Linked DNA regions of Homo sapiens: region 2 is linked to region 1. The links are contacts of gene promoters, found by promoter capture Hi-C in blood cells and fetal thymus (Javierre and others, 2016). All regions are on one chromosome and are shown on one strand. Each heading gives the region's core, a stretch centred on a gene start or on the middle of the fragment in contact. The rest is flanking DNA. Distances are from core to core; before and after follow the strand shown.

Region 1 (3,393 bases), core at 591-3,090:
TCTTCTACTGAGGACAAGTATAAAAATTAGAAGTTCCTGGATGGAATATTATGAGCAAAAGGGAAAAAATTAAAAAATGAAAAATTTGAAAGACAAAATATTGTGTTTTGGAGGATTTTTTATTTTTATTTTTTTAAGACAGGGTGTCACTTTGTCACCCAGATTGCAGTACAGTAGTGTGATCACGGCTCACCGCAGCCTCAACCTCCTGCATTCAAGCAACCCTTCCACCTCAGCCTCCCAAGTATCTGGGACTACAGGCATGCACCACCATGCTCAGCTAATTTTTGTATTTTTTGTAGAGATGGGGGTCTCACTATGTTGCCCAGGTTGGTCTTGAACTCCTGGCTTCAGATGATCCTCACACCTCAGCCTCCCAAAATGCTAAGATTACAGGCATGAGCCACTGTGCCCAGCCAACAAAATATTTGGAAGACATTTTTGATGAGTAAGACTTTTCCTACCCAAACTTCATCAAATTTATCAGAGTATTAACACTAATTTCAATTAGAGCCAGTAAGTAGTGTTTCCTTTTCATTTTCCAAGCATTGCAGACTGATCTCTGTTTTCTAAACATAAACTTACTAATATTTTACTGTGTGCTCCTGGAAAAACTACATTAAATCTATCTCAATTTGTCCAATTAATGAAAATTAAATACCAGAACTGTTCATATGTACATTGTCTCCCCCACTAGATTATATTCTCCTGAAAAACAAGGAATTTATGTTTTTTATTTGAGCATGTCTCAAAGTAGTGCATACTAGATGCTGTACAGGTGACAAGATGAATGGGTGGATAGAAGGATGGATGGATGGATGGATGGATGGATGGATGGACGGACGGACATATGTATAGATAGATGGGTGGGTAAATGGATGAATGAGTGGGTGAATGGATGAATGCGTGGGTGGATAGATAGATGGGTGGTTGGGTGGATGGATGAGTATTTGCATGTATAGATAGATGGGTGGGTGAATGAATAGGTCATGGACGGATGGATGGATGGATAGATGGATGGGTGAATGGATGGATGGGTGGATAAATGGATGGATGGATGGATGGATGGATGGATGGATGGATGGATGGATGGATGGATAGATGGATAGATGGATGGATAAATAGATGGATGGCTGGCTGGCTGGATGGATGGAGAGATGGATGGATGTGTGGATGAATAGATGGATGGATGGGTGGATGGGGAATGAGTGGGCAGGTAATACATGAGTGAGTGGGTGGATGGAAGGATAAATGGATGGGTGGATGGATGTGTGGGTGGATGGATGGAAGGATGGATGGATGGATAGGTGGATGAATAGATTTGTATTTGTGAGTGGGTGGATGAAAAGATGGGTGGATGGGTGGGTGGACAGATATATAGATTTCAAAAATGAGTATATCTATATGAATGAATGAATTCCTCCCCGACAACAATTATAAATTGATGTCAGCATAGAAATAAAATATTCCCAAAGGTTGAGCAAAAATTATCTAATTGTATTTATCTAATAAACTAGAAAAGTAAAAATAAGGATGACGTCACTACACAGGGACATTTTACAGTATTTCTCCCACCCATGCTCCCTCTAAAAACCTTGCAACTAGTTGATTTACCAGTACTACCCACTTGTGGTAAAACAATTTTTGTCACCAACACATCACTCACACCTCTCTGCCATCAAGATAATACATGTGGTCCCCAAAATGTTCCACCAGGAGGTGTTCTGGGGGCAGCTAACTAAGAGGGGGCTTCCAGACAGATGGAGGAGTTGATACACATGAGGTCACAGATCTACTGCCTCTCCCCCTTTAAAAGAAACTACTCAGCTCCATTTGTCTCAGAATCTAGAGGAAGTTGACAAAGGTGCCACAGCAGCACAGCACAGTATGTGGTGGAGAGTTCTCAGCTTGCTGGCATGGTTCCCCTTGCAAGGTAAGGACTTAGAGTTATTTTTGTTGTTGCTCAGCTGACTTAATGTTTTGCCACATCTACCTATCAGTCAGTCAACTGCATTTACAGAGGAGCTGCTGTAGAAGACAACCCAGGTAACTGCTAATACTTTCCAAGCCATGCTCAAATCATGCATCTGAGGGATGTTACTGCGTTTATTTGATCTCTCGTTCAATGGCTAAGGAGTATAGAAAGGATCATTATAGTGTGTGTCTCTGTGGGTCCTATGTTACGGCAAGATGAAACAAGCTTATTAGGCTCTGTCTTTTAAGGGCATACCAGTTGAAAGAGCATCCGTATTGAATTTTATTTTATTTTATTTATTTATTTATTTATGAGACACAGTCTCGCTCTGTCGCCCAGGCTGGAGTGCAGCGGCACGACCTCGGCTCACTGCAAGCTCCGCCTCCCGGGTTCACGCCTTTCTCCTGCCTCAGCCTCCCAAGTAGCTGGGACTACAGGTGCCCGCCACCACCACGCCCGGCTAATTTTTTTATATTTTTAGTAGAGACGGGGTTTCACCGTGTTAGCCAGGATGGTCTCAATCTCCTGACCTCGTGATCTGCCCACCTCAGCCTCCCAAAGTGCTGGGATTACAGGCGTAAGCCACCGCGCCCGGCCTCCACGTTGAATTTTAAAATTTCCTTGCTGTATAAATCTTAGCCAAACGATTTAATCTCTTTGAAACTCAGTTTCTGCATCTTAAAATGAAAATGATAAAAACTTTTGATCCACCAAACTCCCTGGATTGTTAGAAGGATCAAATTTCAAATGTGAAAGCACTTTGAAAATGATAAAGCGCTGTGCAACACTTATTTAGCTCAGAGGTAATAATGAGACCAATGAAAACTTCGTGTTTATTTTTAAAGAGTAAGTTATACTTTACATTTTACTATAATTTTCAAATTTGGATTTTAGTGCTTAATCCTAATGTAGCATTATGAAAATTAAGGATAGAAGCAGTTACCTTTTTGGAGCAGGTCAAATTATTTTCTACCCAAAAGTGGGGGCAGGGGTGTAGGAAGTGGCTCCTGTTGTCCCTCAGTCTCTGCTTACAATTGTATCAGATTCATGCAAAGGACATCCCTCACAAATCCACTCAAAAATTTTGCTTTTTGTGTGTTTGTTACCAAATATTGAAACTGTAGTTCTGTTTCATGAAATGCACCTATCCTTCTAAATCTACATTTAATCTGGAATGGCATCTGAAGGACGCTACTTTAAAAAACTCGATTTCCTATTTTACATAGTACTTCAATTCCCTATTTTATATACTTCAATTAATGCCTTCTTTTTTTGGTCCCTGTACCCTGAGGCACTTAATAAGGATTCAATTTTGGTAATGAATAATATTAGTTTCTTCATTAAGTGGCTTAAAGAATAGCTAATACATTCAAAAAGAGTACATTTAGACAGCTAAAATTAGGATGATTTCAATTTTT
Region 2 (3,393 bases), core at 386-2,885, 270 kb after region 1:
TGGGAGTCAATACAGTGCCTAGTTATCTCCTCCCACCCCTCCAAGGAGGATATTTGTTCCTAGAGTCCTTAATATTAGGGGTGTGGATACAAGGACCCAGGTGACAGCCTGAGCTTTGGGCTTCAGTCAGGGGGGCCGGATATTGAGCTTCTACCTCCTTCCCAGCCTGTGGGTTGGTTTTAGGGGAGGAGAAGGATGGGGAAAGGGAATGAGGGAAAAGGGAGAAGGTGAGGGAAAGGAAAGGAAGAGGAAGGGAAGTGGGGGATGGGAGAAGGAAAAAGGAGGAGAGTGGGAGGGAGGAGAATGAGGAAAAGGGAGAACCTGACACTGATGGAAGATAGTTGGAGAAGTTTTCAGATTAAACACAAACTGATTAAAAATGATCAACTTGGCTGGGCGCGGTGGCTCATGCCTGTAATCCCAGCACTTTGGGAGGCTGAGGCGGGCGGATCACCTGAGGTCGGGAGTTCGAGACCAGCCTGACTAGCATGGAGAAGGAGAAACCCTGTCTCTACTAAAAATACAAAATTAGCAGGTTGTGATGGCGCATGCCTATAATCCCAGCTACTTGGGAGGCTGAGGCAGGAGAATCGCTTAAACCCAGGAGGCGGAGGTTGCAGTGAGCCAAGATCACGCCATTGTACTCCAGCCTGGGCAACAAGAGTGAAACTCTGTCTCAAAAAAAAAAAAAAAAAAAAAGAAAGAAAGAAAAAAAATGGTTGAGTTGCCTCCCTTCCCCTCTGTGAAAAACTGTCTCAGTAGGAACTTTGCAAGTGTTTATCCACATTAAAAAACTGCACTGAGCTTTTCACCTATCAGGCAAGGATGGTGTTAAGAATACAAAGGTGATGATAGTCTCTCCTACTCCTTCAAATCCTTCAAAAGAGGATCGTTGACACCTGATATTAATTTAACAATGAACAATTAACTGATTCAACTGCATGATCTCATGTGAACCCGTGACTCAAATGTTATCATTTGTTATCGATCTGAGCCCGTGAGAGCCAATGTTATCAACTCTTTTAGAGAAGAGAAGACTGAGGATGACCACACAGCTAAGGCCACACTGCCGATATTCCATCACTAGTTTTTATTATTTTTCCTTCCCCACACCGAAGATGATTGTCTTTTCCTTGAAACCGGCAGATTGGAAACACAGAGATCATGTTTGTAAATGTGGATGGCACAGAGCTAGGTAGCAGAGCTAATCTGGTTGGACACACCTGAGGTACATAGTTATCCTGCTGGCTGGGATTCTGACCCAAAGCAAGAAGAAATTGAATGGAAGCAAATGTTAAAGTTTCAGTGAGACACAAGTCCAGGGTGGGAAAGACCTGGAGGACATGGGGAACCAAGAGATTTATTGACCACCAGTATGATGTGGCCGCATTTATAGAGGTTCGATGTTCCAAACACCGAGTAACATCTCCATTGTACTTTATACTAGCCAACCTAGCATATCCAGAGCAACTGTGTTCAGTTTTAGATGCTGAAAACTGGGAAGGACATTGACAAAAAGGGGCATTCGGGGAGTCATGACCGGCAAATGATAGGGTGAGAAAAATATATGAGGAACAGCTAATGCAGTTATAGGTGAACAAATTATGAAGATGGAAGACCAAGGGGCAGCATTGTAGCTACCTTCCATCATTTAAAAGGCCACAAAACAAGTAATAGGTTTACTGCATTTTGTTCCTTTGGTCAGAATTACGGAATCATTATGGTGCCTAGTTATTTCCTTCCATCCCTCCAAAGGGGATATTTCTTCCTGGAGTCCTTGAAATAAGTGGTGTTGCCCATGCGATGGCTCACGCCTGTAATCCCAGCACTTTGGGGGGCTGAGGTGGGCAGATCACAAGGTCAGGAGTTCGAGACCAGCCTGCCCAACATGGTGAAACCCCGTCTCTACTAAAAACACAAAAATTAGCCGGCCGTGTTGGCAGGCACTTGTAATTCCAGCTACTTGGGAGGCTGAGATGGGAGAATCGCTTGAACCCGAGAGGTGGAAGTTGCCATGAGCCCTGATTGTGTCACTGCACACCAGCCTGGGTGACAGAGCGAGACTCCGTCAGAAAAAAAAAAAAAAAATTAGCCAGGTGTGGTAACTCCTGCTTGTAATCCCAGCTACTAGGGAGGCTTAGACAGGAGAATTGCTGGAACTCAGGAAGTGCAGGCTGTAGCGAGCCAAGATCACAACACGGCACTCCAGCCTGAGCAACAGACCGAAACTTCTCAAAGAAAAAAAAATGGTGTTGGTACAAAGACCAAGGTGACAACCTGAGCTGCGGGCGTCAGTCAAGGGGGGCCGGATATTGAGCATCTACTTCCTTCCCAGTCTGTGGGTTAGTTTTAGAGGAGGAGAAAGATGGGGAAAAGGAGTGAGGGAAAAGGGAGAAGTTGAGGGAAAGGAAGGAAAGGGCTTATGCCATTTGGGCTTAATATGTTGACTGACTCTGTAACAGCGCTGTCTGATAAGAGAAAGAGCTCTACTGTTTAGTGAGTTTTCCATTACTGGAGTCATTCAAATGAGAGTGTGTGAGTAGCTGTAAAGGGGTCCTTATATGTGGATGTTAAACCCAATATTTAATGTCTTTTCTAACTATAATATTCTATGAACTACTAATAATTATGAGTGCTCAGTATATTCAAGGCCCTGTCTTAGTTGAATGTGATGCGAAATATAAAATACAAGTGTAAAATACTGTCGGTGTATTTTGTCACCATCAGTGAGCGCTTACACAATTTATACAAAAGGTCTAGTTTTGTGCCATTGTGTGTGTGGTTTTTGTGTGTGTGTGCCTCAGCTGGAGTGCAGTGGCACGATCTGGGCTCACTGCAACTTCTGCCTCCTGGGTTCAAGTGCCTCAGCCTTCCAAGTAGCTGGGATTACAGATGCACACCACCACACCCAGCTCATTTTTGTGTTTTTAGTAGAGACGGAGTTTCACCGTGTTGGCCTGGCTGGCATGGAACTCCTGACCTCAGGTGATCGGCCCACCGCAGCCTCCCAAAGTGCTGGGATTACAGGTGTGAGCCACCATGCCCGGCCATAGTTTTGTTCCATTATTAACATGACTTTTCAAGATTGTTGAAGGGACTTTTCAAGATTGTTGAAGCGCTTTTTCAAAGAACTGAAAAGAACTGGCCCATCCAACTACAGCATTTCTTTCCTTTCTGTTGCTCTTTTAATCCACAAGGGGGCAGAATTTACTTAGGGAGGATTAGCCAGGCCTCACCTTTAAGGTAGTTATTCTTAGTAACAAGGATTCTAATGGACAAAGAATGACAGACTACTTTGGATTTAAGCTTATAAGCACTTTGCTGCCATTTGTGGTTATGTGCTAAATTTCCAACCACGTGCATTGAATGTTCAAAGGCCCATGGAAAAAATGA

What was found. Contacts are between HindIII fragments. The CHiCAGO score rates a contact against its expected background, and 5 or more counts as called.
Region 2: a fragment that was not itself captured here is called in contact with the fragment with the promoter of CRTAM in region 1 in 1 of 17 cell types (naive CD8 T cells); the score reaches 5.0 in naive CD8 T cells.

What each region holds. Positions count from the first base shown.
Region 1 is chr11:122,836,660-122,840,052 of GRCh38, forward strand. CRTAM (cytotoxic and regulatory T cell molecule) reads left to right here and starts at 1,841. Exons shown (of 10, transcript NM_019604.4): 1 at 1,841-1,933. The coding sequence starts at 1,888. The HindIII fragment of the contact is 4,925 bases long and covers 1-2,198 here.
Region 2 is chr11:123,108,382-123,111,774 of GRCh38, forward strand. All of the region lies in intron 1 of CLMP (CXADR like cell adhesion molecule), which reads right to left. Among named protein-coding and RNA genes, the nearest start is that of HSPA8, 48 kb to the left of the region's middle. The HindIII fragment of the contact is 3,337 bases long and covers 1-3,304 here.